2 separate regions of the Homo sapiens genome follow, and region 2 is linked to region 1. Evidence: promoter capture Hi-C in 16 types of primary human blood cells and fetal thymus (Javierre and others, 2016). All regions are on one chromosome and are shown on one strand. The core of a region is centred on a gene start or on the middle of the fragment in contact, and the rest is flanking DNA. Distances in the headings are between cores, read along the strand shown.

Region 1 (3,841 bases), core at 570-3,069:
GGGCCCTCATCATCTGATTCACTCTCACTTGGTTGAAGCTCTTCAGGGTGATCTAACAGAGCGTTGACTGCTACTATGTCTCCTCTCACAGATATGCCCATTTCTTTCAGCTTCTCTGCCATGGGGCTGGAGACACTGTTGTAAAATGCAAAGATGATGTGAGGGTTGCTATACTGCACTGGCTGCTGGTGACTGGCCTGGAGGAAGTCTTCAGCCTGCTCAATGATGCTTTTGTCACCATATTGGCCCCTGCCCAGCCAGATGTTATGAAGAGCTTCAGCCTTCCGGCCAATGGCTTTCACCCAAGTATGACCACCATTTGCAACTACATCTACCACAAGGGTTTGCTTTTCTCCTAAGGTATCTGTATAACCAAAGACATGAAGAACACTAACAACTTCTTCCAGGTTTTCTGCTGATTCCACAATGGCTCTCAGGTGTGTTAGGTTAGTGCTCTGTAAATGAGACTCTTTAATAGCTACTTTCCCAGCTTCTACTTTCTGCAAGAATTTTAATTCTGCCTTCAATTTGCTGCACAGCTTTGCACCACCTTCTATGCCACCTTTTCTTGATCTAGAAAGTGATTCTGCTCTCTTGATCAGTTCCTTGGCTATGGCGATTCGTTCACAGAGCATGGAATGTGCAGACATGCTGTCAGCATTATTCCTTTCCTAGGGAAAGAAACAAGGCAAACTTCAGTAGTCTCCTAAAATTATGACAATCAATTCTTCACTGGTGATTAAAAACTTCAATCTAGCAACACAGCTTATGGAGGGTGAGTCTATGAACCCGGGCTTGTGTATGTCTCATTCTGGAGTGACTGCTTCCTCTGATAGCTAAGGAAAGGATGGCAGCTACACTTTTGAACTCTTCTTTAGGTACGTCTGACACACTTTAGACCTTCATTTCTTCAGCTTGAAAGCCATGGGGACACAGCATGGTCCTAGGTTAGGATACAATGCAAGAGTTGGGCAATCTGCTATATAAATAATTCCCTTATGTCTATCAGCGGCCTGTTTAACTGCTGAGAAATTTTAATAAAGGCGACAAAAATGCCGAAAACAAAAATACACACAGACTGGCTAGTTAGCAAACTGTCCAAAGCAAGTGTCTGTCCTAAACTGAGCACTTCAGCCTCCCTAACCTTTTCCTCCTTCCCGAGTTGGTCTCCTTCAACCGGCTGCCTCATGATTTCCCCCGAGGCTTGGGGTACTTACGCCAAAAAAAATCAACACTGCCTCATTTCTGCATTTGACGTCAACCCAGACTATTTTAAAAGACCGAAGAAGACCACCAACTTGCGTCCCACTCCCACTCCGACTCTGAAGGAAAATCCGAAGATGAAACTAAACTCCAAGGCTGCAACCCGCGGCGGCCGTGCAAGCGGCCCCAGCGCAGGTCGCCGGGTGGGCGGGCCAGAGGCCGGCGGGGCCTTCTCGGTGGGCTGCGGGGCCCTCGGCCCTGCCCGGCCACCTGCACAGCCGGGCCCTGCCAGGAGGGGCCGGGGCCGAAAAGCCCCCACCGCCAGCGCCGCGGCTCAGGGACCAGGCGCTGATAGCGCGCGGCCGACCCCCTTCCCGCCGGGCCGGCCCTGCCCAGCCCCCTCTGGCCTCAGAAGAGGCGCCCCGCTCCCAGCCTCCCCGCCTCGCTCCCCGGCTCCTCACCGGCAGCGCCAGAACCGCGAGCGCGAGCACGCAGGCGCGTGCACGCAGAGGCCGGGACCCGCCGGGAAATCTCAACCGGGCAGCCCCCACCCCGCTCGAACGCCGAGGCGGCTCCACCCGCGCGAGCCCCGCCGCCTCGGGCACCTCCTGCATCACGTGGTTCCGGGCCGGGTGACGCCAAACCTGCGATTCCCAAGCGGCAGCGCGGCCTCCCGAGCCGGGTTGACGCTGGCGTGGCGGCCATGTTTATTGAGGGCACCTGGCTTCTCCCGCTTGCGCCGCCGGGTGAGCCTGAAGGCGCGCACCCACCTGGCTCCAGGAAGAGGGACCGAGCTCGCGTGCTGGGCCTCACTCCCACTGGGGGCGTCGGCCACTCGATCGCAACCGGGTCGTAGGCATTTTGGGGGCTCATTTTAACAGAAGAAACGCTGGAGAAGCTTGTCAGAGGTGACAGCTGAGAAGTACTGCCTCTGGGACTTCTGCCTCCAAGCCAAAGCACTTTCCACTGCATTGTCCTGGGCCCTCCAAAGAAAGTGTGCTGTCCTTCTGAAGAGAAGAAATGATTGCATGGCTTCCGAGGGGCTGCCATATTCATATTACTGTAGTAGAGTGTCCAGAGTCACCCAGAAAGATTAGGGCTGTAAGAAAGTAAAGCTAATTTAAAATATTAAAGAGGACTTCCAGTTATAATTAATCCTGTGTATCCTGCTCCTTCTCCAAACTTAACAGTAAAGCAATGCTCCTTCTCCAAATAACAGTAAAGCAATGACAAAGGGAACAAACAAAGGCAAAAAGAACAAGAGAAGAGATGACTGCAGACCGGTTATACCAACACATTTTTGGAGGACAAGAGCAATAACTTATTCAGTCCTTACAGCGTGACAGACATTGTTCTAAGTGTTTTACACATTGTTCACTCCTTTAAACAACCTAAAAGGTAGAGATATTAAGTATGCTTTACAGATAAGTGAGCCATAGGGAGGTTACCTGAACCCAAGCACCCTCTTTGCAGATGGTGTCAGGAGAACTGAGCAAACTGCTTGTAGAAGGGGATATTTAGCCACTGATTCACAAAGCAGAACCCCAGAAAGCTTCAGGTGCCTTGAAGGTAGAAGGGAGGGCAGTAAATTGTTCAGGCAGAAGACTAGTTTAAGATGCTAAAGACAGGGCATCAGAGGGATTCCAGACACAAAGCCTAACAAAGGATGAGAGGTGCCATGATGTTTTCCTACTGAATAGTGCAATGCTAGCAGCCCCCTTCTCTGCCCCTCCCATAATGCAGGCACCCCTCTACCGCTCCCTACCACTATCTCCCCATAACCCTATTTTTCTCTGAAGAAATGAGTAGACAAAAGACCCTAGAGAAATGGCTCGGCAATACCAACATTCAGCATCCCCTAGTGTGAGCCTCACGAACACAGCATTTCCCAACGTTTTTGTTATTTGAAGGAAATGGAAAACAGAACAAAATGGTCTCAAAAAGTATTCTATAACTAGCATCTTCAAATAAAAGATATTTCAGCTATGAAACAAGAGGATTTCTTTTTTTAAGGAGACAGCAGAGCACAGGAAATGGTTCTTCTGTAGTAAAAATCATATCCCAAATTTCAAAACATCAATGAGTTGGAAAAATTTAGAAAGTAGAAATAGATGAAAAATGGAGCAAAAACAAAAGGATCCAGTATCCAATTAACAGGAGTTTAGAAACAAAAACAAAATGAAGAGAAAATTTTTCAAAAACTTAATAGAAAATTTAGCAAACAGAAACGTTTTTCACAGTGCAAGGGCCCACTGAGTGCTCACCACAATGACTATTAAGAAACCCACACAAAGGAACATGGTTGTGAAGTTTCAGAACACAGCAGATAAGAGAAAAACCAAGAGCTGCAGAGGGGAAAACTTACAAAGGACTTGGCATCACATACGCAATAGTATTAGGCTTCCTATCAGCAACACTGGAATTTAGAAGGGAGTAATGCTTTCAAAATGTGGAGATAATTTATTTCTTAGAGTTTTTAAACCCAGCCAATTCAGAGAGAAAGCAAGGAGAATAAAGATAGTTTCAAACAAGCACCTAGCCTGGATTGGAACAGGAAGACAGAGGGTTCTAAGAGAAACTTCTCTGAGGTGTGGGGAAGAGAACTGATACAGAGTGCCTGATATCTGACTGATGAGGA
Region 2 (3,841 bases), core at 862-3,361, 1.0 Mb after region 1:
CAGATGTGAGCCACCATGCCTGGTCCCATCTTTTTATTAAAAATTTACACTAAAATTTTTTTTCAAAAAGTCCTGACATGGTGGCTCACACCTTTAATCCCAGCACTTTTAGAGGCTGAGGTGGGAGGATCACTTGAGCCCAGGAGTTTGAGATCAGCCTGGGAAACATAGTAAGACCTTGTCTTTACAAATAATAAACACAATTAGCCAGGTGTGGTAATGCATACCTGTAGTCCCAGCTACTCAGGAGGCTGAGATGGTAGGATCTCTTGAGCCTGGGAGGCTGAAGCCACAGTGAGCCAAGATTTCACCACTGCACTCCAGCCTGGGTGACACAGCAAGACTCTTTCTCATAAAAATAAATAAATAAAAAGAACATTACATATTGATAAGAGTCAATTCACTAAGAAGACATAACAATGATAAACATGTATGCACCAAACAAAAGATCCCCAAAAAATATGAAGCTAACATTGACAGAATTAAAGAGAAAAAATACAGACTTCTACAATAAAAGTTGGAAACTTCAATACCCCACTTTCAATAATAGTACAATCAGACAGGAGAACCATAAGAAAATAGACAGCCTGAACAGCACTATAAATAAACTGGACCAGCCAGTCACGGTAGCTCACACCTGTAATCCCAGCACTTTGTGAAGCCAAGGCAGGTGGATCACTTGAGGTCAGGAGTTCGAGACCAGTAGGGCCAACATGGTGAAACCTCCTCTCTACTAAAAATACAAAAATTAGCTGGGTGTGGTGGCGCACACCTATAATCCCAGCTACTCGGGAAGCTGAGGCAGGAGTATTGTGTGAACCCAGGAGGTGGAGGTTGCAGAGAGCTGAGATCATGCCACCGATTCCAGCCTGGGTGACAGAGCGAGACTCCATCTCAAATAAATAAATAGGGCCAGGCGCGGTGGCTCACGCCTGTAATCCCAGCACTTTGGGAGGCTGAGGAGGGTGGATCACCTGAGGTCAGGAGTTCAAGACCAGCCTGGCCAACATGGTGAAACCCCGTCTCTACTAAAAATACAAAAAATTAGCCAGGCGTGGCGGTGGATGTCTGTAATCCCAGCTACTTAGGAGGCTGAGGCAGGAAAATTGCTTGAACCTGGGAGGTGGAGGTTGTAGTTAGCCAAGATCTCATCATTGCACTCCATCCTGGGCAACAAGAGTGAAACTCTGTCTCAAATAAATAAATAGGACCTAACAGACATATGCACAGCACTACTGAACAACAGCAAAATACATGTTCTTCTCAAATGCACATGGAACACTCTCCAAGATAGACCATATGTTAGGTCACAAAACAAGCCTTAATACATCATAAAATAATAAAATCATATAAAGTATCTTTTTTGATCATAATGGAATGAAACTAGAAACTAGACCTCACAACAGGAAGAAAACTAGAAAATTGACAAATGTGTGGAAATTAAAGAACACCCTTAAGCAACCAATGGACCAAAAGAAAAAAAACACAGGAAATTAGAAAATACCTTGAAAAAAAATAAAATATACCAAAACTTATGGGATGCAGTGCAGTCAGTTCTAAGAGGGCAATTTATACTTTAATGCCTATATTTAAAACAAAGAAAGATCTCAACTCAATAACTTAGCTCTATACCTTAAAGAAAAAGAAAATGAAGAGCAAACTATATCCAAAGCTAGCAAAAGGAGGGAAATAATAAAAATTAAAGTAATATGGGCCGGGCGTGGTTGCTCATGCCTGTAATCCCAGCACTTTGGGAGGCTGAGGCTGTTGGATTACCTGAGGTCAAGAGTTCCAGACCAGCCTGGCCAACATGGTGAAACCCTGTCTCTACTAAAAATACAAAAAATTAGCCAGGCGTGGTGGCGCACGCCTGTAGTCCCAGCTACTCGGGAGGCTAAGGCAGGAGAATCGCTTGAACCCAGGAGATGGAGGTTGCAGTGAGCTGAGATTGCACCACTGCATTCCAGCCTAGGCAACAGAGCAAGACTCCAAAATCAGGAAGTGTAAGTCCTCCAGCTTTGTTCTTTTTAAAACTGTTTTGGCTGTTCAGGATCCCTTCAGATTCCATATGAACTTTAGGATGGGTTTTTCTATTTCTGCAAAACCATCGAGATTTTGATAGGGATTACATTGTATCTGCAGATCACTTGGGGTAATAGTGACATCTTAACAATATTGTCTTCCAATTCAACCCATCAACATAGGATGTCTTTCCTTTTATGTATTTATTCTTTAATATTTTGTAGCAATTTGTATGACTCCCTTCAGCATTTCTTGCAGGACCAGTCTATTGGTAATGAATTCCCTCAGCTTTTGTTTTTCTGTGAATGTCTTAATTTCTCCTTCAATTTTTTTTTTTCTTTTTGAGACAGAGTCTCACTCTGTTGCCCAGGCTGGAATGTAGTGGCATGATCTCAGCTCACTGCAACCTCCACCTCCCGGGTTCAAGAGATTCTCCTGCCTCAGCCTCCCATGTAGCTGGGATTACAGCCATGCGCCACCATGCCCAGCTAATTTTTATATTTTTAGTAGAGACAGGGTTTCACCATGTTGGCCAGACTGGTCTCCAACTCCTGACCTCAAGTGATCCACCCACCTTGGCCTCCCTAAGTGCTGGGATTACAGGTATGAGCCATCCCGCCCAGCCTCTCCCATACTTTTGAAGGACAATTTGCCAGATATAAGATTCTTGGTTGACAGTTTTTTTTGTTTGTTTGTTTTTTGAGACGGAGTCTCGCTCTGTGGTCCAGGCTGGAGTGCAGTGGCGCGAACTCGGCTCACTGCAAGCTCCGCCTCCTGGGTTCACACCATTCTCCTGCCTCAGCCTCCTGAGTAGCTGGGACTACAGGCGCCTGCCACCACTCCCGGCTATTTTTTTTTTTTATTTTTTATTTTTAGTAGAGACGGGGTTTCACCGTGTTAGCCAGGATGGTCTTCATCTCCTGACCTTGTGATCTGCCTGCCTCGGCCTCCCAAAGTGCTGGGATTATAGGCGTGAACCACCGCACCTGGCCCTGACAGTTATTTTCTTTAAGCACTTTAAATATATCACCCCACTGCCTGCTAGCCTTAAAAGTTTCTCATGAGAAATCTGCTGATAATCTTATTAAAGAGCCCTTAAATATGATGAATCACTTCTCTCTTCACACTTTCAAGATTCTCTGTTTTTGGCTTTCGAAAGTTTTATTTTATTTCATTTATTTATTTATTTTTGAGATGGAATCTCGCTCTGTTGCCCAGGCTGGAGTGCAGTGGCATGATCTTGGCTCACTGCAACCTCCGCCTCCCTAGTTCAAGTGATTCTCCTGCCTCAGCCTTCCAAGTAGCTGGGACTACAGGTGCACATCACCACGCCCAGCTAATTTTTGTATTTTTAGTAGAAACAGGTTTTTACCATGTTGGCCAGGCTGGTCTTGAACTCCTACCCTCAAGTGATCCACCTGCCTTGGCCTACCAAAGTCCTGGTATTATAGGTGTGAGCCACTGCACCTGGCCTATTTTATTTGTTTTTTTATAGAGACTATCTTGCTCTGTCACTCAGGCTGGAGTGCAGTGGCGTGATATTAGCTCAAGCTGATTTCTTGGGCTCAAGCAATCCTTTGGCCTCAGCTCCCTAAGTAGCTGGTACTACAGGTGCTTGCCACCACACCTGGCTAATTTTTGTATGTTTTGTAGAGACGGGTTTTGCCAGGGTGGCTTTTGAAAGTTTAATTATGGCTGGGTGTGGTGGCTCACACCTGTAATCCCAGCACTTTGGGAGGCTGAGGTGGGGTGGATTGCTTGAGCCCAGGAGCTTGAGATCAGCCTGGGAAACATGGTAAAACCGCATCTCTAACCACCC

The links. Contacts are between HindIII fragments. The CHiCAGO score rates a contact against its expected background, and 5 or more counts as called.
Region 2: a contact is called between a fragment that was not itself captured here and the fragment with the promoter of C7orf25 in region 1, in 2 of 17 cell types (naive CD8 T cells and non-activated CD4 T cells). The highest score is 8.2, in naive CD8 T cells.

What each region holds. Positions count from the first base shown.
Region 1 is chr7:42,910,251-42,914,091 of GRCh38, forward strand. C7orf25 (chromosome 7 open reading frame 25) reads right to left here and starts at 1,820. Exons shown (of 2, transcript NM_001099858.2): 1 at 1,665-1,820; 2 at 1-671. The coding sequence starts at 650. RefSeq lists enhancers at 649-1,346, 1,347-2,043, 3,563-3,622 and a silencer at 1,392-1,651. The HindIII fragment of the contact is 2,903 bases long and covers 1-2,099 here.
Region 2 is chr7:43,910,504-43,914,344 of GRCh38, forward strand. It overlaps a transcript of URGCP not described here. Among named protein-coding and RNA genes, the nearest start is that of URGCP-MRPS24, 5.8 kb to the left of the region's middle. The HindIII fragment of the contact is 7,696 bases long and covers 1-3,841 here.